3 separate regions of the Homo sapiens genome follow, and all the other regions are linked to region 1. Evidence: promoter capture Hi-C in 16 types of primary human blood cells and fetal thymus (Javierre and others, 2016). All regions are on one chromosome and are shown on one strand. Each heading gives the region's core, a stretch centred on a gene start or on the middle of the fragment in contact. The rest is flanking DNA. Distances are from core to core; before and after follow the strand shown.

Region 1 (3,569 bases), core at 540-3,039:
TTTCTTCCAGCCTCTTTGATTAAGTCACATCAAAGCGCTAATGGCAAAGTTGTTTAATGTGTGTTTCTCCAAGGCAGGTTAGGATTTCACTGGGATTCTTAAAATTTGAGGGTGTCTGTGATCGTCAAAATTTGTATTCATGTAGTCCCTCATGAAATTTCTAAAACTCGGCTGGGTGCAGTGGCTCATGCCTGTAATCCCAGCACTTTGGGAGGCCGAGGAGGGTGGATCACAAGGTCAGGAGTTTGAGACCAGCCTGGCCAATATGGTGAAACCCCATCTCTACTAAAAATTTAAAAATTAGCCTGGCATGGTGGCACACGCCTGTAGTCCCAGCTACTCAGGAGGCTGAGGCAGAAGAATTGCTTGAACCCAGGAGGCGGAGGTTGCAGTGAGCCAAGATTGCACCACTGCACTCCAGCCTGGGCGGCAGAGAAAGACTTCATCTAAAAAAAAAAAAAGAAAATAAATTTCTAAAACTCTGTATTTCTTTGCTCTTTTAAGTTGACATCTATAACTTTCTATTACTTTAAATACCTGGAAAAAAAATCACTTCCAGTGCATTGTAATAATGTATCAAGTAGAAGTGGCTAAAATCAGTGAAAACATTTCTTTGATCTGAATAAATGTTCAAGAAAATAGAAAACATGAACTTACCTCCAATCTATGTTCCCTTTACTTGAAAATGTAATGTTGATCTACTAGAGGTAAGGCAGGAATTGTCACATCCATATTCCTTGCAACTATTCAAAATATGCATCTGAGACCAGAACAAGACACAGGTGAAGAAGGGTGCTCACTAGGCCCCTTCTGCCAATACAGAAGGAGACAGTGCAGTGGAGTCCTTTCATAGCAAGTTCTGCCTTCATGATTTCCAAAGCTTCAGTATTCCAAATCTCAGGTGAATAGGGTGGTATCCACTAAGCTCTGCCACAAACTTGTTGCTGAGATGAAGGAAGCCGCCGCTGTAGTCAGTATTTCTCACCCACACGGTTTGCTCTCTTTCTGGCTGGTGTGGGAAGGATGGCGTCTTTTTTTTTTTTTTTTTTTTGAGATGGAGTCTTGCTCTGTTACCCAAGCTGGATTGTAGTGTTGTGATCTCGGCTCACTGCAACCCATGCAAGGTGCTGTCAGGTTCCACCTGTGCAAACAAGTACACTGGTCCAGCATGGGTCAGCTGCTCACTCACAGGGGCTCCAGAATCCTACAAAGGGACACACAGGGGTGGGTGGCAACCTAGTTGGAAATGGGAGTGATGGGCATGACTAAAGTCTTCCTCATCCCACCAGAGGCGCACTCAACTGTGGCTAGGGTGACCAGAATTCACTGTCCAGCGTGGCTGGCAGGAGCCCACTCTCTGAAGATGGTGGGATTCAGAGGTGGGAGTAGAGTTGGGTGGTCCTGTGAGCTGAGCACTCTCCCAAAAGTGTCCCCTACATATGAGGTTGACAGCTTATTCCTGCAGGGACTCAGGAGTAACTCTGGGTGCTAAAACAAAACTTGAGACCAGCACAGAAACAGCCAGCCCATGAAGCTGGCCTCCCATCACACAGCAAGGCTAGCCAGATGCCCCTCACTCTTCTCGGGCACCATTCTTCTCCTCCCCTAGGCCGCCTGGTGCTCGTGGTGTTTCATGTTTGTTAGTCCATGCACGGTGGTGAGGGAGGCTGCTGTGTGATTTGCCCCAGCCACAGCCTCTACAAAAGCAACTAGAAGAAGACGGCAGCAGAGGGCGCTTCTTCAAACACCCTGTCCAACTCCTGGCACTGACAAGTACTGAGTGAACTCAAACCCTCTGTAAAGTAACAGAAGTTAGAAGGGGAAATGTCGCCTCTCTGAAGATTACCCAAAGAAAAAGTGATTTGTCATTGCTTTATAGACTGTAAGAAGAGAACATCTCAGAAGTGGAGTCTTACCCTGAAATCAAAGGATTTAAAGAAAAAGTGGAATTTTTCTTCAGCAAGTAAGTACATTTACTATTATCTTACTATGGGATAGCTTGGTAGAACTAGTTACCAGCAACCTCACTGCTTTTTAAACAAACAATACCTCTGCTACCACCTCCTGGATCCAGGCTTGCCCTCAAAGGAACCCTTAGGGTCTCATTCCCACAGGAGGCTGTGGCTTCCCGACATATTTGGAGCATCATAGTGAGAATTGTGGCCCATTATTTTAAAATATCCTAGATCCTAGCAAATATTGTTTTTGTGGGCCGTATTTGAATTTCTCAAGCCAGTAAAATTCTAGTGAAAGTGGGAAAATCGCTTGAGCTCGGGAGGTTGAGACTGTGGTGAGCTATGGTCACGCCACTGCACTCTAGCCTGTGTGACAGAGCAAGATTCTATCTTAAGAAAAACAAATTCTGGTGAATAAGTCTCTTTTAACTAATCCTGTCTAAAATGGATGATGGCTAATAAAACAATATGGCGTGGCTGGAACTCTAGCTCTAGGGTGGTCTCCAAAGAGGACACTCAAGCATTCTCTGAGCAGCACGGGGCTGTGTCCTGGTAGCAGCCTGAAGGGGTGACAGTGGAGCACAGTGTTTATTTTCATTTCTCAATTTTGACATATTTACTGGAAAAATTAATCCCTAGCCACCTCACATGACAGTACATAATTTTTTTTTTTTTTTTTTTTGAGATGGAGTCTCACTCTGTCGCCTAGGCTGGAGTGCAGTGTTGCAATCATCTTGGCTCACTGCAGCCTCCACCTCCTGGATTCAAGCAATTCTCGTGCCTCAGCCTCCCAAGTGGCTGGGATTACAGGCACCCACCACCACACCTGGCTAATTTTTGTATTTTTGGTAGAAATGGGGTTTTGCCATGTTGGCCAGGCTGGTCTGGAACTCCTGGCCTCAAGTAATCCGCCCACCTCAGCCTCCCAAAGTGCTGGGATTACAGGCGTGAGCCACCACGCCTGGCCCTGGAGTACATAATTTTGATAAGTAACGTCTGCAGTGTCTTTTTTTCCCTCCCTTTTTATGGATAGACTTTTCTGGTTATTGAGATCTCATACCCCTTTATGATATATTATTTGAGTAGAGGGTTTAAAGAATTGAGATACTTGTTTTCTTATGTTAATATGTCAAGAAAGAAGTTGTTTCATAACTTAGGTCCTGCCTTGGACAAAATACACCCTTACTGTCTGCTCTATGTTTCTTGGTATGTTCAGAAGAGGATTTGAACTTTTGCAGGTTGGCTAACAGATATGGAGGGTCCTTAGAGCTCTCCTGTTTCTAACCAAATCTTCACCCCACCTATTAAGTAGAAAGCCTTTTCATGGAAGGGCTGTGGTTGGTTCTTGGAACTGGTCCCCTCACAGAATTTCCATTCGCTTTTCCTCAGGGTCACGCCCTGCTTTAGAGGTTGCTTAGGTTAAGCTCTCCAATTAATTTTAGCAGGCAACTCGAGAGTTTTGCAACTCAAAGTAGGCACACCTTCCTTCCTGAATGACTTTTATTTGTTCCTTTTTCAGGCTGTGAAACTAAATCCACAACCTTTGGAGACCCAGGAACACCCTCCAATCTCTGTGTGTTTTGTAAACATCACTGGAGGGTCTTCTACGTGAGC
Region 2 (3,569 bases), core at 701-3,200, 690 kb after region 1:
CTTTAGATCTTTAGTTGTTGTTTGGGATTCTGGGTAATATAGAAACCCACTGCTTACATCACATGGCTTTCTATTTAGGACTTAAAAGAGAAAGGAACTGCAGTTCATTTTCTCTGTGTTACACTATTTTTGATTCTCTTTGTTTTTCACCAGCTATTTTCTTCCACTCATGTGCACAGTATTTCTTTTATGAACCAGCTGCCCTGCTCATTTTAAATTGAGATTGTTTTACCCAATTATTCACCTTCTGCCTCTCTTTACAATGCTTCCTACATTGTAGCCACATTGCATTATTAAACATTTTCATGATAAGCAATTCAGAGCAGTATTCAAAATTAAAAACATTCATCCTGAGCCAAATAGGAGCTCTAGTTTATTGGAACGTGCTTTAACAATAATCTGATGTTTCTCAGAAGGTTATCAAATTCCAGTCTGAGTTTCTGGATGGTAGATCTCTTTTTAGGATCCCAGCACCTAGTTAACCTCTTCTAATTTGCCATTGGTTCTTAGCAATTTGGTTCATGCTAAAGCTTCTTTGATTTCAACAGCTGATTTTTTATTAGAAAGTTTTCCCTAACTTCTGTCTCTCTCCACACCTCTTTGAGAAATAGGAGCAAGTTTGCTTCCTACCTCATCCATTAATTCTAGGTGAACTACATTGTACTATTGTATTAATTAAAGTGGGCATTTATAATAATGCACCAAACTTAGCATTGTGTAAGTGAACAGGAAATTCTCACTATTGTTGGAAAAATTTAAAAAATATTACCCTTTGAGACACTCTCTAGGATAATCTCAAATCCTTCATTATGTGCTTCTTAAGTAAATGGCATTGCCTTAAAAGAGCTGTATTTCTTGTCTGTCCAAGTCTACCTTTTAAGTGACAAAATTGCAACAATGGTAAATGCATTGCTTCCCGTGTCCTCCAAGACTTCACAGCTCATATCTCAATACTTCAGTCTCTCAAGTGCAAAATGAGGATAATAGTTTACAGCATTTAAGATGTGAAGCACTTAGAACAGTCACTGAAACATTATTCAATGCACACTAGCCACTATCACTATTATTTGAAATGTCTCATTGTTATAAATACATATTTTAAAATGTGTGCAAAGTCAACATTGTATTTAAGACTATTGCATTCCCCCAGTGCCACAGTACCACTAATTGAATTTGTGATTTAGGTCTCTCCAGGCAGAATTCAAGGCTGTGGCTCGGCTTTAATACCATCTAGATATTGGATTCCTGACCTGACTTGTTGAGTCTTACCTATCCTGTATTCTTTTTCAATTGTCTCTGCCTACCAATTGAGATAGCCTCCGATTTTACCTGTGCTCCTCCTCCTCTTTCTCTCTCAGCCACTGGTGAGTATTTACATGAGCTAAGATTTAGGAGTGCTGTAGATCAGGAAGCTTTGTTGGCATTAGTGGCTGATTCAGTTTCCCCAGTGCCTGTCCCCTGTGGCTGTGCTGAGTGCTCTCCTGGACCCTCCTCTCTGGTCACATCCTGTTCTAAGTAATGGTCCATTCAGATGTGATCTTAGTCTCATCGTTTTAGTCCATTTGTGCTGCTAATAACAAAATACGACAGACTGGGTAATTTATAAACAATAGAAATTTATTTCTTACAGTTCTGGAGGCTGGGCAGTTCAAGATAAAGGCACCAGCATTCAGTGTCTGGTGAGGGCCTTCTTGCTGTGTCCTCACATATTTGCAGGGCCAAAAAGGCAAAAAGACCCTAAGCCACTTCCCTCCAGATCTTCTATAAGGCACTAATCTGTTTATGAGAGGAGAGCCGGAATGACTAATCATCTTCCTAAAGTCCCCACCTCATAACAACACCACCATGGGGATTAAGTTTCAACATATGAATTCTGAAAAACATTCAGACAATAGCACTTAACATTTAAAAGTTGCTTAATTTCAAGGCCAAAAATTAATCTTATGTTTCAGAATATTATTCAAAAATCCCTCACAAGCAGTTTAACCTCAATGTGATATGGAAGACCAGTGGTCATTACAAAGTATGTTGTTAGAAGTCTTTACTATTTCCCAGATGACTGGAAATATGGCCTTACACTAGAGTGACCCTATTACCAGCTCACTCAGGTTAGTCTCAGTTTATATTTGTAGCCTAGGAATTATTAATAGTGTCCCTCAATTACTCTCAGAGTGTCTTAATTTGGGCAATAAGTTTATAAGGTCACCACAGCTTGAAATGATGTCTAGTAGTCATCCTCCAAATTATTTTATGTCAGGAGTTCACAATCTAACATCAGTTTTCCGTAGATCTTCACATTCACATTACAGCTTTGTTGACTCTTTCAACATCTCTATTTTAATAGCTCTGAGACAAAACTTCAGGAAAGTTATGTTGCTTATCTTAGAAACCTAACTTTCATGGTGAAAGGATATGATGAAAATAGGAATCTCCACCACAGAAGAATAGAAAAATCTCTTCCTAGGAGATATCTTTTCCTGAAGCTTTTTTTGATTGCCCAAGACAGGAAAATAAATCTTCTGTGATTATATAAGATAATGTATACTTATCATAGGATATACATATCATATTCAAATTAATTTTGTCCTGTGACTATGCTCCTTGAAGATGGGAACCATTTTGTAATTATTTGCTTCTTGAAGGTGGTAACTATTTCATAATTATTTGTGTTTTTCCAGGCCTCACACATGGCACATAGTAGATGCTGAAAAAAGTTTGTGAATCTGAATATTGGAACTCAATTGAACTCAAGACTATTTTTATCAACACTTCTAGTGATCAAAGTTGATTAGTATATACTAGAAGTTGCTGATTATAAAACAAATTAATCTGATGTGTTATTGGTCATGCAGGCCACCCACCCAGTCTATCCTTCTATCTACTATGTGTGAAACATTCTCTTCCTTCCACTTTATGTGGAGATAGGTGAAACATTTCCTCTTTTCATTCTCTCAGTAAGTCTGATGACTCCCTATGTTCCTGATCATCTGATCCCAAGGAAACACGCTATTAGTCAATTCTCACACTGTTTTAAAGAAATACCTGAGACTGGGTAATTTATGAAGAAAGGAGGTTTAATTGACTCACAGTTCCACAGGCTGTATAGAAAGCATGACTGGGAGGTTTCAGGAAACTTACAATCATGGTGGAAGATGAAGGGGAAGCAAGGCACATCTTCCTATGGCAGAGCAGGAGAGAAAGGGGGGAAGTGTCATACTTTTAAACCATCAGATCTCATGAGAACTCACCCACTATCATGAGAACAACAAGGAGGAAATCCAGCCCCATGATCCAATCACCTCCCAGCAGGCCCCTCCCCCAACACTGGGGATTCTAATTTGACATGAGATTTGGGTGGGAACACAGAGCTAACCCATATCGTTCTGCCCTTGATCCCCACCCCCAAATCTCATGTCCTTCTCACATTTCAAAACCAATTATGCTTCCCAATAGTCCCACAAAGTCTTAACTCATTCCAGCATTAACCCAAAATTCAGGTCCAAAGTCTCACCTGAGATAAGCCAAGTCCCTTATGCCTATGAGCCTGAAAATCAAAAACAATTTAGTTG
Region 3 (3,569 bases), core at 392-2,891, 670 kb after region 1:
AAATGATTGTGCCAGTTCCTTGGGGGCATTTGATGTTATATTAGAGATGCAGTATTGTTTGGGAAAGCTGTGGAGATAACATTCTTAATGCAGTGGTTTGGAAGAATCTTAAGTAATTATGAAGGGTTTTGTGTGAAAATATCTGTTATGCTTATTACATGGCAGTACATGAAAAAATGCATTTCAAGTACTAATTTATTTAATTTTATCACACTTCTACATGGACGCTATCATCACTCATATTTTACAAGTTCAGAAACTGAGGTGGTTAAACATTTTTCCCAGACTATTCAGTAATCTGTCAGTTGCTTTTCTCAGTAGATATTTCTGTCTGACTGAACCAATGTCTAAAAAGAAAGATCTGGGATCCTCGTCGTTTTGCCTTCAAATAGCCCTCTTTTGGACAAATCACTTGTGTTAAGTAAGATGATATTCAACTTCACAGAAAAAATGCTGAGACAATAAATGCAATTCAGAGAAAAGTTGACTTGTAAATTCTATGTGTATACAGCTATTTATAGCTTTTCCTCACAGCTTCCTTGTGAAGAAGGTATTATTTCCCTATTTTAGGTAAAGGCAAGGCACAAAATTCTGACTTAATCATAAGACATTAATGATAGAGACAAGTTTATTAAACAAAGCAATAAGTATAGTGCCTACTATGTATTTAACACAGTGAGGTCAGTTGATACCTGATTAATTTTAGGAGGTCAGATTAGAATAGATAATTTAGCTTATTATAACTTACATTGAAGCCATATTTCTCTATCATCCATCAGTTGCTCCCTCAGTTTATCAGATTTGCAGCAGTTTTGCATTTGAGGCTTGGACAAGATTGTATGCCTATATATATATATATATGTATGTGTGTGTGTATATATATATATATGAATGAGCTTCAGTTGTCCATTACATTGGACAAACTACAAAATTCTCTAAGGCTCAGTTTCATCTACAAAATAGAAACAATATAATAGTTATCTTTGAGATTGTGAGTACTAAATGAAATAATGCACATAAGATGAATATCATGGTGTCTGGTGATAGTAAACACTTGATATTTGCCATTATTCGTAGTAGTTCAGAAGCTTTAAATTTCTAGGCAATAGCTATGTCATTTACACCTACTCAGTATTTCAACTCTTTTTGCCAGAAGTACTATTTGAGTGCTACTGCATATAAAATAGCAATTTGGGACATTTTTTTGTTTAAGAGAAAGGAGAAGCCTCGGTAATTATTGTCTACCCAAATACTTTCTCCTATTTCCCTTTTCCTCACATTTTGTTCCAAAATAACACACTTATCTTCTGATTACTATCAATTTCAAATCGCTGAGGATAATTAAGAGGGTGGGAGAACATCAGCATTTATAGAGCACCTACTGTATGCTAGACAGCATACTGGACACTTTGTGTATATCCCATAGAATCCTCAACACTTTCAATTTTAGTACTGTATTATGCTAATTTTACAGATGAAGGAACAGGCTTTCATGGGTTAAGTACCTTGCTCAAGGTCATAAAGCTTGTAAGATGTAGAGCCAAGGGCATTGCTCATCTGTTGCCATATACTGTCCTTCCATTAAGATAGCCAATAAATAGTAAAGGTCTTGGTACTGCCTCAAATTTGGCCTGGCATAGACAAGAGTTCTTTATTCTTTCTAGTCATTCTTTGCCCATTAAAAAAATTATTTAATAAAATTACCATCTCTGACTTATAAGACTATTAGAATAATTTTTTCCATGCGGTCAAGCTTTTTGAGTTTTTCTCCTCTTAATTTCTGCACACTCGGGGGGGTCTCACAGCCGTTTAATTCTTTCTCATCACTTTCCTAGGGCATTTGCAATTTGTGTAAAACACTAGTTCCCTTACCACCTTCAGCTCTACAGTCAGAGCTATTGCTAGGGGAGGATGCGTTTGAGGAAATTCCCGTAGGCGAGAAGTTTTGAGGGGAACACAGAGGTCTTTGAAGACATGGTGAATTTGGAGGAAATTCTACGTAGAAGGATGCCTTTTGCTACCCTGGGCCTGCACTTGAGTCCCAGCTCCGTCACTTCCTACTGACTTGAGGCAAGCTGTTTAGCCTCTCTGGGGATATAACATGGAGATTATAATTGCTACATCATAGGTCTGAGGATACCATTAGATAATGTATATAAAATGGTATAGATAAATTGTAGCTGTTACTGGTTTACTTTTTAAGTCATGTATTTGAATTTTATAAGGAGAAAAACGGAAGTTCTACTGGAGAGATTAGAGAAGACCTGAGTCTCACATACAACCAGGTTGTAACTCTTTTCTTCACCTCCCCTCTCTCAGTCATCCAGAGATCAAGGTGTGTTCACCCCTCCAACTTCACAGTGCTGATCCTGTATTATGATGTAAGTAGAGGCGAGGCTGTGATTTCTGAGCCCCAATCCCTTTAGTATAGAGATCACAACCTGAAATGCCTGTGAAGGTAAAGTAAATGAGAGAACTGGGCCAGATGGGGAGCATGGTGACTTGGAGATTTATGCCCTGCCTAAAGAGGTTAGCAGCTACTCAGCTCCCACCAAGAGTGGTCAGTAGGACTTGGGTCCAGGATGGCCAGGTCTCTTGAATCTTCAAGAGAAGCCAGAAATGCTTATTTGTATCTCTCTTGGATTGTATATGTCGGCAATGAATTTTTTTAAGTTAAATCCTGCTTAATTATACATTCCTGTGGGTCTGTGTGGCCTGTGGTCCAGTATTTACAATATCTGTTATTAAGCAGACTTGTTTCCAGCAGCTTCATGGGTGGATCCAGCTTGGAGCTCTCCTCTTCTGAATAGTATCGAGTAACAGGAAACTATGTGTCAGGTGCTGCTCTAAGCATTTTACATCTATTAAATCATTTTAATCCTCACAACCACTGTATGAGATAGGTACAAACACTATCCCATTTTGCAGATAATAACACCGAGGTACAAGTGATAAGTAACTAGCCTAAGTTTATATGGGAAGACCTGGGACCTGGATTCAAATATAGGCAACCTGGCTCCTAATTGCTATATAGTATTTTCTAATGTTTGTGCTTTCAGAAGAAAAAGAAACGGTGCATTTCTGGTAATTTTAAATTTTCAAGGAATATTTCAATGATTTAGATCAGTACACTGCTCTCCCTAGTTCTTGAAACAATCCGGGCTGACATTTTGGAAAGGAGGGGAAAAGGGCAATTCTCTCATCAGGCTTCTTGGGCAAAGCTCTTCTGAAGTAAATGGGGCTGAAAGCCCCCATTGTGTAAACTCAGCCCACACCTCCCCACAGCGAGAAGTCATAAGCAAGTCTTGAGTCTCCACATAACTCTAGAGTTTTATAGAGGAAACTCTTCATTAACAATGCATTGATTTGTGACCACACTTCTGTAAAAAGAACAGCTTTCATAGAGTCCTCTGCAGCTTGCTTGCTTGCTTTTTTTTTTGAAGTGTAGTGTTTTTGCTTACTTGCAAAGCACTAAAGAGGAGTTAACTTTTAGATGGGTACAAGGAATCTTCAGATGTGTTGCTGCTAGTACTTTTTTTCCCCCATTGAGTATAAGGATGAAAAAAAAT

The links. Contacts are between HindIII fragments. The CHiCAGO score rates a contact against its expected background, and 5 or more counts as called.
Region 2: a contact is called between a fragment that was not itself captured here and the fragment with the promoter of CD80 in region 1, in 1 of 17 cell types (total B cells). The highest score is 5.5, in total B cells.
Region 3: a fragment that was not itself captured here is called in contact with the fragment with the promoter of CD80 in region 1 in 1 of 17 cell types (total B cells); the score reaches 6.6 in total B cells.

The regions. Positions count from the first base shown.
Region 1 is chr3:119,557,834-119,561,402 of GRCh38, reverse strand. It overlaps CD80 (CD80 molecule), which reads left to right and starts at 1,789. Exons shown (of 7, transcript NM_005191.4): 1 at 1,789-1,963; 2 at 3,475-3,569. LOC107986118 (a long non-coding RNA gene) reads right to left here and starts at 973. Exons shown (of 2, transcript XR_001740861.2): 1 at 658-973. RefSeq lists enhancers at 1,516-1,565, 2,336-2,395, 2,666-2,825, 3,187-3,481 and a silencer at 3,187-3,481. The HindIII fragment of the contact is 26,007 bases long and covers 883-3,569 here.
Region 2 is chr3:118,871,942-118,875,510 of GRCh38, reverse strand. No RefSeq gene overlaps it. Among named protein-coding and RNA genes, the nearest start is that of IGSF11-AS1, 69 kb to the left of the region's middle. The HindIII fragment of the contact is 1,071 bases long and covers 1,415-2,485 here.
Region 3 is chr3:118,890,140-118,893,708 of GRCh38, reverse strand. No RefSeq gene overlaps it. Among named protein-coding and RNA genes, the nearest start is that of IGSF11-AS1, 51 kb to the left of the region's middle. The HindIII fragment of the contact is 229 bases long and covers 1,527-1,755 here.